Regions from separate parts of the Homo sapiens genome. Here region 2 is linked to region 1. Evidence: promoter capture Hi-C in human tissues and cell types (Jung and others, 2019). All regions are on one chromosome and are shown on one strand. Each heading gives the region's core, a stretch centred on a gene start or on the middle of the fragment in contact. The rest is flanking DNA. Distances are from core to core; before and after follow the strand shown. Region 1 holds the start of COL8A1 (collagen type VIII alpha 1 chain). Region 2 has its middle 250 kb from the start of LINC00973.

What was found. Contacts are between HindIII fragments. The study calls those that stand out against the background at their distance.
Region 2: a contact is called between a fragment that was not itself captured here and the fragment with the promoter of COL8A1 in region 1, in 1 of the 25 tissues and cell types used here (aorta).

Annotation. Positions count from the first base shown.
Region 1 is chr3:99,633,174-99,640,979 of GRCh38, forward strand. It overlaps COL8A1 (collagen type VIII alpha 1 chain), which reads left to right and starts at 5,421. Exons shown (of 4, transcript NM_020351.4): 1 at 5,421-5,491. LOC124909401 (a long non-coding RNA gene) reads right to left here and starts at 5,507. Exons shown (of 2, transcript XR_007095981.1): 1 at 5,414-5,507; 2 at 4,195-4,761. The HindIII fragment of the contact is 6,546 bases long and covers 730-7,275 here.
Region 2 is chr3:99,162,497-99,169,555 of GRCh38, forward strand. No RefSeq gene overlaps it. Among named protein-coding and RNA genes, the nearest start is that of LINC00973, 250 kb to the left of the region's middle. The HindIII fragment of the contact is 3,333 bases long and covers 1,665-4,997 here.

The DNA of each region.
Region 1 (7,806 bases), core at 4,171-6,670:
GGGTGTTGCCAGAGGAGATGGACATTTGAATCAGTGGACTAGGAGAGGAAGACCCACCCTCAGTGCAGGTGGGCACCATCCAATCAGCTGCCAGGGCAGCTAGAACAAAGCAGGTGGAAGAATGGGGATAAGTAGCTTGCTTTCTAAGTCAGATTTCTCTTTCTCTCTTCCTGTGTGGTGCTGGAAACTCAGCTTCTCCTTCTGTCCTTGGACATCAAACTCCAGGTTCTTCAGCCTTTGGACTCTGGGAGTTGCACCAGCATCCCCCTAGGGGCTCTCGGGCCTTCGGCCTCAGACTGAGTGAGGGCTGCACTGTCAGCTTCCCTGGTTTTGAGGCTTTCAGACTTTGACTGAGCCATTACCTGCTTCTCTCTTTCCCCAGCTTGCAGGGGACTTCGCCTTGTAATCATGTGATTCAATTATCCCTAATAAACTCATATATATCCTACTGGTATGTGTGTGTGTGTGTGGTGTGTGTGTGTGTGTGTGTGTGTGTGTGTGTGTGTGTATCTCCTACTGGTTCTGTTCCTCTGGAGAACCCTAATACACATACCTAAATTGAGCATGTGTATCATTGTATGTTGAGCTGACTTCATGGGGATGTTGAGTGAGTGGAGTGCCCACCAACTGGCACACAGCAGGCATCTGGAAGGTGGAAAGAACTTTAGAGAGGGTCTGGTTAAGCCTTCTTATTTTACAAATGCAGACACTTTTACAAATGCAAACACTGAGTCCAAAAAGGATAAAACACCTGCCCCAAGTTTTCACCTGGGTAGTTAGTGGCAGAGCGGGGACTAAACTCCAGATTTCCTGACTCTCCATGCACTGCTCTTTACAAAGCCAGCAGGAGCTGTGAGGCAGTCATCTGTGGGGTCACCTGCATCAGTCAGCTCTACCCTATGGGCCAACAGGAAAACAGTGACTCACAAAATCCAACGGTCCTTTGGAATGCGTAAGAGGTGTGCCTTTCTTCTGTGCTATAAAGCGTTTTCCATTTTTGTAAATAAAACCCCATTTTAAATGTCCTAGGAGAGCTGGCAATTTTAAGTGCCTTACGGACTACGATCATATTTGGTCATGCTTAGCATGGGCTAAGACTGATTGACTGATGAGTCATTTGATAGATGGAGAGCAAATTTCTGTACACCGTATTTCAAATTGTCAGATTTACTTCAAGTGAGCACACCTGTCTGTGACTTTTGCTTAGGCCAAAGCCACATTCATTTGCATTTTAAAGCTCTAAGGAGTGAAAGGAAGAATCAGAGCTTGAAATCTGGCATGGGCAGCACAAACAAATAGTTAAAAATTAACTATTTGAGAACATAGATGTGAATGTGCAGTTTTTAAAGCCAGATCACACTGTTTTCCAATCCAGAAATCCTTGAAAACTCAAGGATCTCATGGATCAGGTATATTATTTAGGGATAATGTAAAGCTACAGCAGGTGAGAAAGACACTGGGCTCCTCGGACACACAGAGAAGACATCACTCTTTATGTGAATCCCATATGTCACCCTGGCCACACCGTGAGAGGGTCCTGCCTTCCTACCCCCTTCCTACAACCATACAGGACACTCCAGGGAAAACTGGGCTAGAACCACTACTGTTTCTGCCACCTTGCTCAGGCCTCCAAGTCTGCAGGATGCAGACACTCTGTTTTCTCTATTTCTAAGTATGCTATCAGTCTGAGATGCACAGGCAAGCATTTATCTGCAAAGCCACAATAAAGACCCTATATTCAAAGAAAAATGAAATCTTGAAAATATGCCACTTTCACCATGCCATTCTATTGCTCAAAAGTCTTCATTGATTCTGCATTGCCTACAGAATATAGTTTATACTTCAGACTACTGAGGTGACCTCATCCCTCCTCATCCCTCCTCTCCATTTCTCAGCCTCATTGTTCTACCACATGGACCTTTCTATACAGTCATGCTGGCCAATTCACCACCTTCTGAATATTCCTGTGATTTCCCTGGTTGCACACATATCCTCCCTTGCCTGGAATGTACTACTGTCCATCACTCGTCTATTCAAATGCTACTTTCCATGGCTCAGCTCAAATGCCACCTCCTCCCTGAAGTCTCTTTACTAAAATTCAACTATCAGGATTTCATGCTTTTCTTCCTCTGTGAGAAAAGATGTCATATTTTCCTCTGCTTTGAATACCTCACATTGTCTGATATCCATTCTTAATAAATATTTGTTAACTGATTAATTCTAAATAAACTCCAAAAAAGGGTTACATTTGCAAAGCTCTCAAAAGTAAGGTAATGATCTGTAGCTGTTATAGCCACACAATGGAAACTTCAGAGCATCTAGTATGTTGTCATTGGATTCCTTTCCTTCCACAGAAGACCAAACTAGGTCATTTCAAACCTCAGTCACCTTCAGAGAGATTCTAGGAAGGGCACACTAAGAGTCAGCAAAGAGACGACATTCCTGGATTCCTGACTTGTTGTCCAGATCTGCTACTGAATCAGATTCAGGTAAGTGTGAATGGGAGAAATGAACTAATTATTAGTGCCATCCAAAAAAATGAAAGCAGTGCTTTTGTTATGTTGGCTGGTTTGAAAGGAAGAAAGAATTAAAAATAAGAAGAGAAATTCAGCCTACAGCCATCAATTGTCTTTTCTTCAAATGTGCTTTTCTTGCCTTTCTGGTATTTTTTTTTTTTCATACGTATGTGATGGAACTGGAATGTTTGAGAAGAATTAACTTAGGATAGAAAAGATGATTTGTTGTAATCTGATAAGGGTATTTACTAACATACTTTATCACCCAGCTTCTCCTCTAAAAGTCCCATTTTGTTTCCCCAGAACACATTTCTTTGCTAAATTAAAAAGTTCCAAAAGTGGTATTGTGCTTGTAAAATCACATCTGATTTCAGCGTTATGTCCAAGAATAGATAATGCAGTCCTATTTCTAGGTCTAGTAACAAGTGTTACTCGTTTGACAGACTTCACTCAGTAGATTTGGCCACATCCTCAAAAGACATACTATTTGGGAAGAGGAAAACTGAGTTATGGAGGGTAAGAAGAGAGTAAAACCAAACAGCAAACGGGCAGAAAGTTGATGTGAAAGTTTTAGCTTTCTAAGCATTCATTAAACTAACAAATGCTGACCATTCTCTATTGTCAGTCCTCAATATTGCTGTTTATTCAATTAGCGAGACTATACATATTTATTGAGCACTTATTTTTTACTAGCTAGTAAGCCACTAGTTATAACTTTGTGCAGCCAAAAAATTATTGAATATAATTTGAATAGGGAACATAGAGATAAAAAATTATAAAAAGGCGAATAATCAATAATGCAAAACATCGTGAGTAAATTTGAAAACTCTGGTGTCAAATTTGTGTTTACGATAAAAATTTTAAATTTTTTATTTCATATATGATTGTTCTTGCCTCATATCCCGGGCACATGGGAGTTTATTTCGTTGACTCCCAGACGTAACCAATTGAGAATAAGCTTAGTTACAAAGGAAGTAATTGAGGCTTTGAGCTCTTGAAGCTAACAGATGGAAATACGTATGTAAAAACCTAAGTGCTGTGTAAACTCGGCACATATGGACGTAGGTATTATTATTATCCAAATGGCACTACTGGGTATTTTCTTAATAGATTCTTTTAAAATGCTTTTTTATAGTTGTGGGCCTTTTTTAGACGAATAGTTCTTAAGAAGAGGAGGGGATTTTGTCCCTCAGCGACATTTGGCTAAATCTAGAGACATTTTTTATTTTCACAGCTGGGTGGCGAGTGCGGAGTGGGTACTGCTACTGGCATCTGGTGGGTAGAGGCCACGGACACTGCTTAACATTCTACAGTGCACAGGAGAGGTCCCTACAACAGAGAAATATTCTCCCGAAAGTTTCAGTAGTGCTAAGTTTGAGTAATTCTGCTCTTCACCATCAAGTTTCCTTCTCTTGGAGCCTGCTACCAGCCAATGACATCAGGATCTAACCTGAGACGAACCTAGGTGTTCTATACGGCAGCCTGGTGTACTGAAGAGTGCCTAAGGTTTGCAAGCTCGCTAGCTGTGGCTCCCCCTCTCGCTAGCTTGAGCTAGTTATTTAAACCCTTAGAGATGCCTTTCTTTAAATTAAAAAAAAAATAAATAAATCTGCACAATATGAATCATACCTACCTCATAAGGTTGCGGTGAACACTGAATGAAGTACATATATACATATTCAGTACAAGTTCGTTCCTTTATTATTTCCAGCCTACCCATCCCTCCCCCCTCCCATTCCCGCCTTTTCCCCCTCCCGGTACTGTATCTCCCACCCCAAGTCTCAGGTTCTCTTTTAAAATGCTTTAATTCCTTTGGTGGCAAAAATCAGGCTTGGGCTAGGAAGTGAGTCACCACTCAGCAGCGAAAGGAGCTTGTTTTTCTTTCTCTGAATGCATTTCTTAGTAATTTCAGACTGATCCTTTAGCCACTTGTTGGTTGAATCCTCTCTTAATGTTTAAGACACACTGAGAAAGAACTGTGGCACCAAGACGTTTTCCGATTGTTAGGAATGAGAGTGTTTTAAATACCGAAAATAACCAGAGGGCAGAGAGCTCTGAAATCCTACGTTACATAAGCAGATGCTGGAAGACCCAGGCTGGTTCTGAGGTTCCTGTCTCCACAAGCAAGTCCACGCGAATCCTCCCCGTTGCTGGATTTACTTTAATGCTGCCGAAGTCTCAAAAGGGGCCTCTGGATGCTCAGAGGACAGGCAGCGCAGGAACTTCCTTGTCAAATAAGCCTTGCCTGGAGGGAGAGGGATGGGGCGATTTTCACCCGCGGGCGGTGGGACGGGGCTGAGGGCTGGGGGCTGCCTGGCTCCAGGCCATGTCAGTGCCTCCAGCTCCAGGTCCGGGTCCACCCTGAACTTTGGCTCTGCTGCCCGGACGCCCAGCTTCACCTCCCTTGCCTCGCTTAGAAACCCTTCAGTTCTCCCGGACCGCTATGTAGCTTTTCAAATTCCCAAATTCACAGAAAACACCTTCAAAAGTCACAATCACCCACAACTCCCTCTGCCAAAAAATGTCATGCAAAAACGGAAAATACTCCGATTCCCCTTTCCTCCCAGACACTCTCTCTCTCTCTGTCTCTGCTATTCATTTTCTCCCCCACCTTTCCCCATCTGTGGTCAAGATCCCTTTCACTATTTCTAGTTCCCTCTCTTTTTTCCCTTCTCCCTCTCTCTCCCTTTTCCACTCCTTCCTCCGTTGTGACCGCGCTCCCCCTCCCCCCGCCCCGTCGTCTCTCCTCCGCCTTGCGGGCTCCAGTCTCTGCCCGCCCCTCCCCAGAGAAGAGTGTCCAGCTCCTCCAGAGGCTGCCCGCCCGCCGCTCCTTCCCTGCCCACCTACTATGAGGAGCAGCTCCTCCCACCTGCCCATAAAAGCCAAGTGCATGTTACCAGCAGCGGATCACAGCCCTTCCCCGATCCTCTCCGTGGGAGCCAGCGAGCCTCTCTCCCTGATCTTACGTGCTCAAGGTAAGACAGCACTTCTGCAGGCAGCTCACCTACCAGGGGTTGCTATGGGGGAATAAGTCACCCTCTGGCCAACGCGTTTGCTGTTTGGTTAGAGCTGATTCTTACGGATGCGCGATCCGCTGCTCCTTTAACTAGCAACTGGTTTGAAAACAAACTTCTGTTTGAATGGTAAAATAAAAGCTCCTTCAGGGAAGAAACAGCAGCATAAATATTGCGAAACCTTTCTCTTTTTAAATCACTTTTTCTCCTGTTGCTGACTGTTGCTTAGGTTAAAATGTATCTGTTTGGGGTGTTGTACTGACGTTTTTCACTGTACATATTTCACACATCAGTGGGGGCAAGGAAAACGTTGTCCCATTGTCAAAAATGTACTTTAAAAGAACACAGTTAACTTCCTAAAAATAGCACAGTCAAAAGGTCTGCTAACAATTTTGTGATGTTTTCCAAACCCCCAAGACAGCTTCTGTGAGTCCTTTAAAAAAATATCTTTCCAGGTTTTAGCGCTTGGAAAAAAATGATGTGAACGGGTGCCCTTTGCACGGGGACAGTAAGTAATCAGGTGGCTGGTAGATAGGAAGGAACAAATCCAAATTCACAAGCCAGGGTAGAATGTGCTCTCTCACCAGGCTATCTTTTCACGACATCCTAAAATGAGAATTACGATGGAACTAAGAAAGTGTATAAAAGAACTTCATGAATTTCTGTACACACACCTAAACATAAAGTGTTTCAATATGTTTCACAGTAAGAGAATAATACAGGCCAGATTATACAATACTTCTGTGCACACCAGATGGTTGTAAAGAAAGATCAGCGAGAAAGGCTTTGGAAGTTTTAATCCTTCTTTCCACCTTTTTTCCCCCGCATTTAGTAAATCACAACCTACCTGACTGGCATCCAATTATCAGAGATATTCAGTGTTTAAGCTACCCTCTTTAAAAGAAAATGATCTCTTCTTATTCCTAAGGTAGAATAAATGTGCACCTGTGAAAGGAAAAACATACTCCACAGCCACTTCTGTAAAACCAGACACTTGGTCCATGAAGTTTGCCATCAAATTCTGTGGGTTGTGTGGGATGAAACTCTCTCAAGTGGGAGAAAAACCCTCTTCAAATGTTTCCTCTGGGGAATTGCTCAAGACCACTTAGAGAAGGCAAACCAAAAGTACCAGTCAGGAAACCAAACCACTCTTTTAGCCCTTAAGGTTCTTAAAGTAAGAAGAGAAATGTTTCACTTTTTTATTTTTTTGTTTGTTTATATTATCTCATGTGGAAAGAAAAAACTCACCGAAGCTGTATGAAATTCTCCCCTATTAAAGAAACAAGACTCATTAGAAATTTAACTTAGGTCTTCCAAACCATTTCTCCTTAGCTTTTGCATATCAAAAGTAATAAAAATATTTAAAAGTTCTGCTTGAGATGGAGAGGATTCAATGCTGTTACTCAAATGCAAGAGTTATATATAAAGCTTCTGTCACGTTAAATTTTTCTTCATTGGAAAAAAATATTGCAAGAAGTGCAGTTTCCTTTAAGCAAATTATATAAAATTACTATTGGCCAAGATAGTATGTGACCTGAGCATATTAACATACCTTTTATCTCATGCCACAATGCAGACTGCTTGCTTTATATCTGATGCACATAGGTAATCAACCATGACAAGAGTACAGGTATGGGACAAGGCCAGACCAAGTATGTGGCACATTCAAGTTAATTCTTCTTTTATGGTAGTGCCTGACTCACACCCATTATCACAAGGATGAAAATACGCTGCTTCATTCACCAGATCCCCTTGAGGGAAGTTATCTTTTCTTGGGGTGGAGGGGGAAATGCTCCCAGTTTAAATGAGCTTCCAGTTATTCCTAAGTTTGGGGATAAAAGTATTCTCCAAGGGTTTACTTCTGCTTTCTCTGGCAATTAATCCACCGGACCAGCTATGGACCGTTAAACAGTAACTGCCTTCCCTATGTCCCATCAAGTTCAAGCCCCTAAATAACTGAGTGAGATCATCTTAGATTGCTCATGATCTAAGTTTCCCAGGAGCAAAGCTATCCTTTCTCCATAGGGTACATACCAAGCAAGATGACACTGCTCTTCTTAAGCTTTTAGAAAAATCAGTGTCGAAGTTTCATGTAGTCGCCCCCAAATCTCCCCTTCTGCATGGGATGTGGATACTTCACGTGAGTCTCCTCTTTTTGCCATTATATAGCTGCCTCTTGATCAAGTCCATGACTATACCCAACCAATGCCATTGAGGCAGACTTGGGAGGACTTCTTAATGTTTCTCAGAAAAGATAAGATGAGAAGCTGCCGCTT
Region 2 (7,059 bases), core at 2,081-4,580, 470 kb before region 1:
CAACCTAATTAAAATACTGAGAGAAGAAAGCAGGCAGATCAAGGTGGTTAAACAGGACCCTCCAGAGATTGTGCCTCCCACAGGAACAATAAATTGAGCAACTAACCATGCAGGAACACCTTCATAAGAACCACAACTTAGGTGAGCAATCACAGTACCTGGTTTTAGTATCATATGAAGGAAGGAGACACTGAAGAGGGTAGAGGGTAGGAAGATAGTCTTGAATTCCCTACACCACTTGTTTCCCCATTTTCCAGCAGTACTACATGACACAGAGAATCTATGTGCTTAGAGGATGGAGAGCAAAGTGATTGTGAGACTTCCCATTGGACCTCAGTGCTGCCCTGTAACAGTGGAAAGAAACACAGGGCAGAATTCAGCTAGTGCCAACAAAGAGAGCCTTTAGACCAACCCTAGCCAGTGGGGTCTCATCCATCCTAGCAGTGGGAGACTGAGCTCTAGCTAGCCCACTACCATAAGCTACAGTACTCTGGGGTCCTAAATAAATCTGAAAGGCAGTCGAGACGACAAGAGTGGCAATTCTTGGGCAAGTCCTGGGGTTGTGCTGGGCTTGGGGCCAGTGAATTTAGGGTGCAGTGGCTTAGTGAGGCATCAGATAAGGAGGCCAAGGGGGTGCTCATGTAACCACTACTCCAACTTCAGGCAGTGCATCTTGCAGCTCTGGCAGAGAGTCCTTCCACTCAAGGAAAGGAGAGGAATGAGTAAAGAGGACTTTGTCTTGCAACTTGGGTATCAGCTCAGCCACAGTAGAATACAGCACCAAGCAGAGTCCTGAAGCCCTTATTCTGGGCTGTAGCTCTCGGATGAAATTTCTGGACCTACCCTGGGCCAGGAGGAAACCTGCTACCCTGAAGGGAAGGACCCAGTCCTGACAATATTCACCACCTGCTGACTAAAGAGCTGCTGGGCTTGAATAAACATCAATGGTAGTCAGGCAGTAATTTCCATGGGCCTTGGGCGAGTCCCAGTGTCATGCTGGCTTCAGGTGTGACCCAGCACACTCCAAGCAGTGGTGGCCATAGGAGTGCTTGCATCACCCCGCCCCAGCTCCAGGCAGCTCAGCCCTCAGGGAGAAACTGCATTTGTTTGAGGGAAAGTAAGGGAAGAGAACAAGAGACTGTGGCTGGTAATCCAGGGAGTTCTCACAGATCTTACCCAAGTTCACCAAAGTGGCACATCTATAAAACTACAAAAGTCACAGCAACACTGGGCTTTATTATCTCCCAATGCAGATAGAGCTTCAGCGACCAAAGATTTAGACCACAACATTCAATTCCCTTGGAATACATAAAAAGCCCTTCTTAAGAAGGACAGATACAAACAAGCCCAGACTGAGAGTATTAGAATTAATACCTAACACTTCAATGCCCAGAAATCAACAAACATCCACAAGACCAAGACCATTTATAAAAACATGATTTCACCAAATGAACTGAATAAAGCACCAGCGATCCATCCTGGAGGAACAGAGATATGTGACTTTTCAAACAGAATTCAAAATAGACTTTCAGACAGATAAGTCAAAACAGCTATTTTGAGGAAGCTCAATGAAATTGAAGATAACACAGAGAAGGAATTCAGAATCCTATCAGACAAATTTGATGAAAAGATTGAAATAATTTTAAAGAATCAAGCAGGAATTCTGGAGCTAAAGAATTCAAATAACACACTGAAAAATGTATTACAGTCTCTCAACAGCAGAATTAATCAAGCAGAAGAAAGAATTAGTGAGCTTGAAGACAGACTATTTGAAAATACACAGTCAAAAATGACAAAAGAAAAATAATAATAATGAATAAAGCACATCTACAAGATCTAGGAAATATCCTCAAAAAGGCAAACCTAAGAATTATTGCCTGAAAGCGGACAGAGAGAGAGAGAGAGAGATTATCTAAAGATATAATATCAGAGAACTTTCCAAACCTAGAGAAATAATCAATATTCAAATACAAGAAGATTTATAGAACTCCAAAGATTTAACCCAAGTAAGACTACCTCAAGATATTTAATAATCAAACTCCCAAAGTCAATAATAAATTCCAAAAAGCAGCAAGAGAAAAAAAAAAGCATGTGAAACAGTTCCAATACATTGACAGCAGACTTCTCAGTGGAAAACTTACAGGCCAGTATAGAGTGGCATGGCATATTTGAAGTTACAAAGAAAAAGAAAACTTTTATCATAGCATATTATATCCGGCAAATATATACTCCAAACATGAAGGTCAATAAAGACTTTTCTAGACTAACGAAAGGTGAGAAATTTTGCCAACACTAGACCCGTCCAACAAAAAAATGCTAAAGAGAGTTCTTCAATCTGAAAGAAAAATGTGTTAATGAGCTATAAGAAATTATTTGGATGTACAAAACTCACTGGTAATAGTAAATATACAGAAAAATACAGAATGCTATGACACTGTAATTTCTGTGTGCTCATATCTTGAGTAGGAAGACTAAAAGATGAATAATAACTACAACAACTTTTTAAGACATAGTATAATAAGACATAAATGCAAACAACAAAAATTTTAAAACGTTGGGGGATAAAATTAAAGGGCAGAGTTTTATTAGTTTTCTCTTTGCTTGTTTGTTTTCTTTAATTTTTGGAATCTGTTAAGTTTTCATCAGTTTAAAATAATGAGTTACAAGATAATATTTGCAAGTCTCATGGTAACCTCAAATCAAAAAAGCTACAATAGATCCACAAAAAATAAAAATAAAAACCAAGAACATAAAACATACCATTGCGTAAAATAATCTTCACAAAAGATAGGAAAAAATGAAGGAGGAAAGACCACAAAACAACAAGAAAAAATATATTTAAATGGCAGTACTAGTCCTTACTTATCAATAATAACATTGATTGTAAATGGACTACACTCTCCAATTAAAAGACATAGGGTAACTGAAGGGATTTTCTGCTGCCTACAAGAAACACACTTCACCTATAAAAACACACATAGACTGAAAATGAAGACATGGAAAAAGACATTCCATGTGAATGGAAACCAAACAATAGCAGGAGTAGCTATACTTATTTCAGACAAAATAGATTTCAAGACAAAAACTGTAAAAGGAGACAAAGAAGGTCCTCATATAATGATAAAGGGGTCAATTCAGCAAGATGATATAATTGTAAATATATAAACACCCAACACTGGGTCACCCAGATATATAAAGCAAGTATTAGAGCTAACAGAAACATGGATCTATATAAAATAATGGGGAGAGACTTCAATACCTCACTTTAAGCGTTGGATAGATCATCCAGACAGAAAATCACCAACGCAACACTCAACTTAATCTGCACTAGAGATCCAATGGAGCTAACAGATATTCACAGAACGTTTCATCCCACGGCAGCAGAATAAAAATTCTTCTCTTCAATACATGAAATATTCTCAAGTATGGATCATATGTTAGGTAGGCCACAAAACAAATCTTAAAAAGTTCAGAAAATGTACGTTTATCAAGTTTCTTCACTGACCACAATGGAATAATGCTAGAAATCAATTCCAAGAGGAATTTTAGAAACTATATAAACACATTGAAATTAAACAATATGCTCCTGAATGCGAGTGTGTCAATGAAGAAATTAAGAAGGAAATTAAAAATTTCTTGAAACAAATATAAACAGAAGCACAATATCAAAATTTATGGAATACAGCAAAAGCAGTACTAACAGGAGAGTGTGTAGCAATAAGCATCTTTACAAAAAAATAGCAAAACTAGCAATGCATCTTAAATAATTAGAAAAGGAAGAGGAAACCAAACCCAAAGTTAGTAAAGGAAAATAAACAATAAAGATCCAAGCAGAAATAAATGAAATTGAACCAAGAAAACAATATGAAAGCTTAATGAAACAAAGTTGAGTTTTTTGAAGAAAGAAAGAAAGCAAGCTAACAAATTCTTTTTTTATTATTATACTTTAAGTTCTGGGTTACATGTGCAGAATGCTCAGTTTTGTTACATAGGTATACACATGCCATGGTGGTTTGCTGCACCCATCAACCCATCACCTACATTAGGTATTTCTCCGAATGTTATCCCTCCCCTAGCCTCCCACCCGCTGCAGGCCCCAGTGTGTGATGTTCCCCTCCCTGTGTCCATGTGTTCTCATTGGAAAGCTACATTCTTAATCAAACTAACTAAAAAAGAGAGAAGACACAAGTAAATAAAATCAGAGATGAAAGAGGTGACATTACAACTGACACTGCAGAAATATAAAGAATCATTAGCAACTACTATGAGCAACTACAGGTCTATAAATTGGAAAAACTTAGAAGAAACTGATAAATTCCTAGAGACATAAAATCTACCAAGATTGAACCATGAGAAAATCCAAAACTTGAACAGATCAACAACAAATAATGAGATAAAACCATAATAAAAAGTTTTCCATTAAAGAAAAGCTCAAGAATCAAAGAATTCACTGCTGAATTTTGTCAAACATTTAAAGGAAAAATAACACTGATCCTACTTAAACTATTCTAAAAAATACAGAAAAAGGGAACAATTCTAAACTCATTCTATGAGGCCAGTATTGCTCTGATGCCAAAACCAAAAACACATAAAGAAAACAAAACTACAGGCCAACATCTCTGATAAACATTGATGCAAAAATCCTCAAAAATACTAGCAAACTGAATTCACCAACACATTAAAAAGATTATTCATTATGACCAAGTGGAATTTATTCCAGTGATGCAAGAATGAGTCCACATATGCAAATCAATCAGTGTGATACATCATATCAAGAGAATAAAGGACAAAAACCATATGATCATTTCAACTGATGCTGAAAAAACATTTGGTAAAATTCAACACCCCTTCTAAAAACAACCCTAAAAAAACTGGGTATAGAAGGAACATACCTCAACATAATGAAAGCCATATGTGACAGACCCACAGATTGTATCATATTGAACAGAGAAAAACTGAAAGCCTATCCTCTAATATCTGCAACAATATGGAAATGGTCACTTTCACCACTATTTTTCAACATAGGACTGGAAGTCCTACCTATACCAATCGGACAAGAGAAAGAAATAAATGACATCAAAATTGGAAAGAAAGAAGTTAAAATATCCTTCTTTACAGATTGTATAATTTTATATTTGGAAAAATCTTAAGACTCCACCTAAAAGCTATTAGAACTGATAAACAAGCTCATTAATATTGCAGGGTACAAAATTAACATACAAAATCAGTGGCATATCTATATGCCAACAGCAAACAATCTTAAAAAGAAATAAAAAAATGTAATCCCATTTACAATAGTGACAAATGGAATACCTAGGAATAAACATAGCCAAAGTAGTGAAAAATCTCCACAATGAAAATTATAAAACATTTATTTAAGAAATTGAAGAGAACACAAAAATTAAAAGATATTTTATATTCATGGATTGGAAAAATTAATAGTATTAAAATGTCCATACTACCTAAAACACTCTACAGATTCAAGCAATTCCTATCAAAATATCAATACATTCTTCAGAGAAATAGAAACAAATTATCCTAAAATTTATGTGGAACTGTAAACAAAACAAAACAAAACAAAACAGGATAACTAAAACCAACCTGAACAAACAGGACAAAACAAGATGAGACACATTATGTGACTTCAAATTATACTACAGAGATATAGTAACCCAAACAGCATGAAATGGCATTTAAACAGACACTTAGACAAATGGAACAGAATAGAGAATGTAGAAGTAAACCATACTTCTATAGTGAACTCATTTTTGACATAGGTGCCAAGAACAGACATTGGAGAAAGGACAATCTCTTCAAAAAGGTGCTGTGAAAACCGGATATCCATATGCAGAAGATGGAAACTAGACCCCAATCTCTCACCATATAAAAATGTCAAACTAAAATGGATTGGAGACTTAAATCTAAGACCTGAAGCCATGAAACTACTAAAAGAAAACTAATGAAACTTTTTAGGTCATTGGTCTGGGCAAATATTTCTTTAGTAATACCTCAAAAGCACAGGATACCAAAGCAAAAATGGGATCACATGAAGTTAAATAGCTTCTTCACAGCAAAAGAAACAATTTTAAAAAATGAAGAGACAACCCACAGAATGGGAGAAAGCTTTTTTTTCTAATTATTTTACTAACTTTTATTTTAAGTTCTGGGGTACATGTGCAGAATGTGCAGGTTTGTTACATAGGTAGACGTGTACCATGGTGGTTTGCTGCACAGATCAACCCATCATCCAGTTATTAAGCCCAGCACCCATTAGCTGTTCTTCCTGATGCTCTCCCTCCCCAGCATGCCCAACAGGCCCCAGTGTGTGTTTTTCCCCACAATGTGTTCATGTGTTCTCATCATTCAACTCCCACTGATGAGTGAGAACAGGTGGTGTTTGGTTTTCTGTTCCTACATTAGTTTGCTGAAGATAACAGCTTCCAGCTATATCCATGTCCCTGCAAAGGACATGATCTCATTCCTTTTTATGGCTGCATAGTATTCCATAGTGTATATGTACCACATTTTCTTTATCCAGTCTACTGCTGATGGACATTTGGGTTGATTCCATGCCTTTGCTATTGCAAACAGTGCTTTAATGAACATATGTGTGTATGTATCTTTATAATAGAATGATTTCTATTCCTTTGGGTTTATACCCAGTAATGGAATTGCCGGGTCAAGTGGTATTTCTGCTTCTAGATCTTTGAGGAATTGTCACACTGTCTTCCACAATGCTTGTACCAATTTACATTCTCATCAACAGTGTAGAAGTGTTCCTTTTTCTCCACAACCTCACCAGCATCTGTTGTTTCTTGACTTTTTAATAACTGCTATTCTCACTGGTGTGAGATGGTATCTCATTGTGATTTTGATTTGCATTTCTCTAATGATCAATGATGTTGAACTTTTTTCATGTTTGTTGGCTGCATGAATGTCTTTTTTGAGAAGTGGCTGTTCATGTCCTTTGCCCAATTTTTGATGCGGCTGTGTGTTTCTTGTAAATTTGTTTAAGTTCCTTGTAAATACTGAACAGTAGACTTTTGTCAGATGGATAGA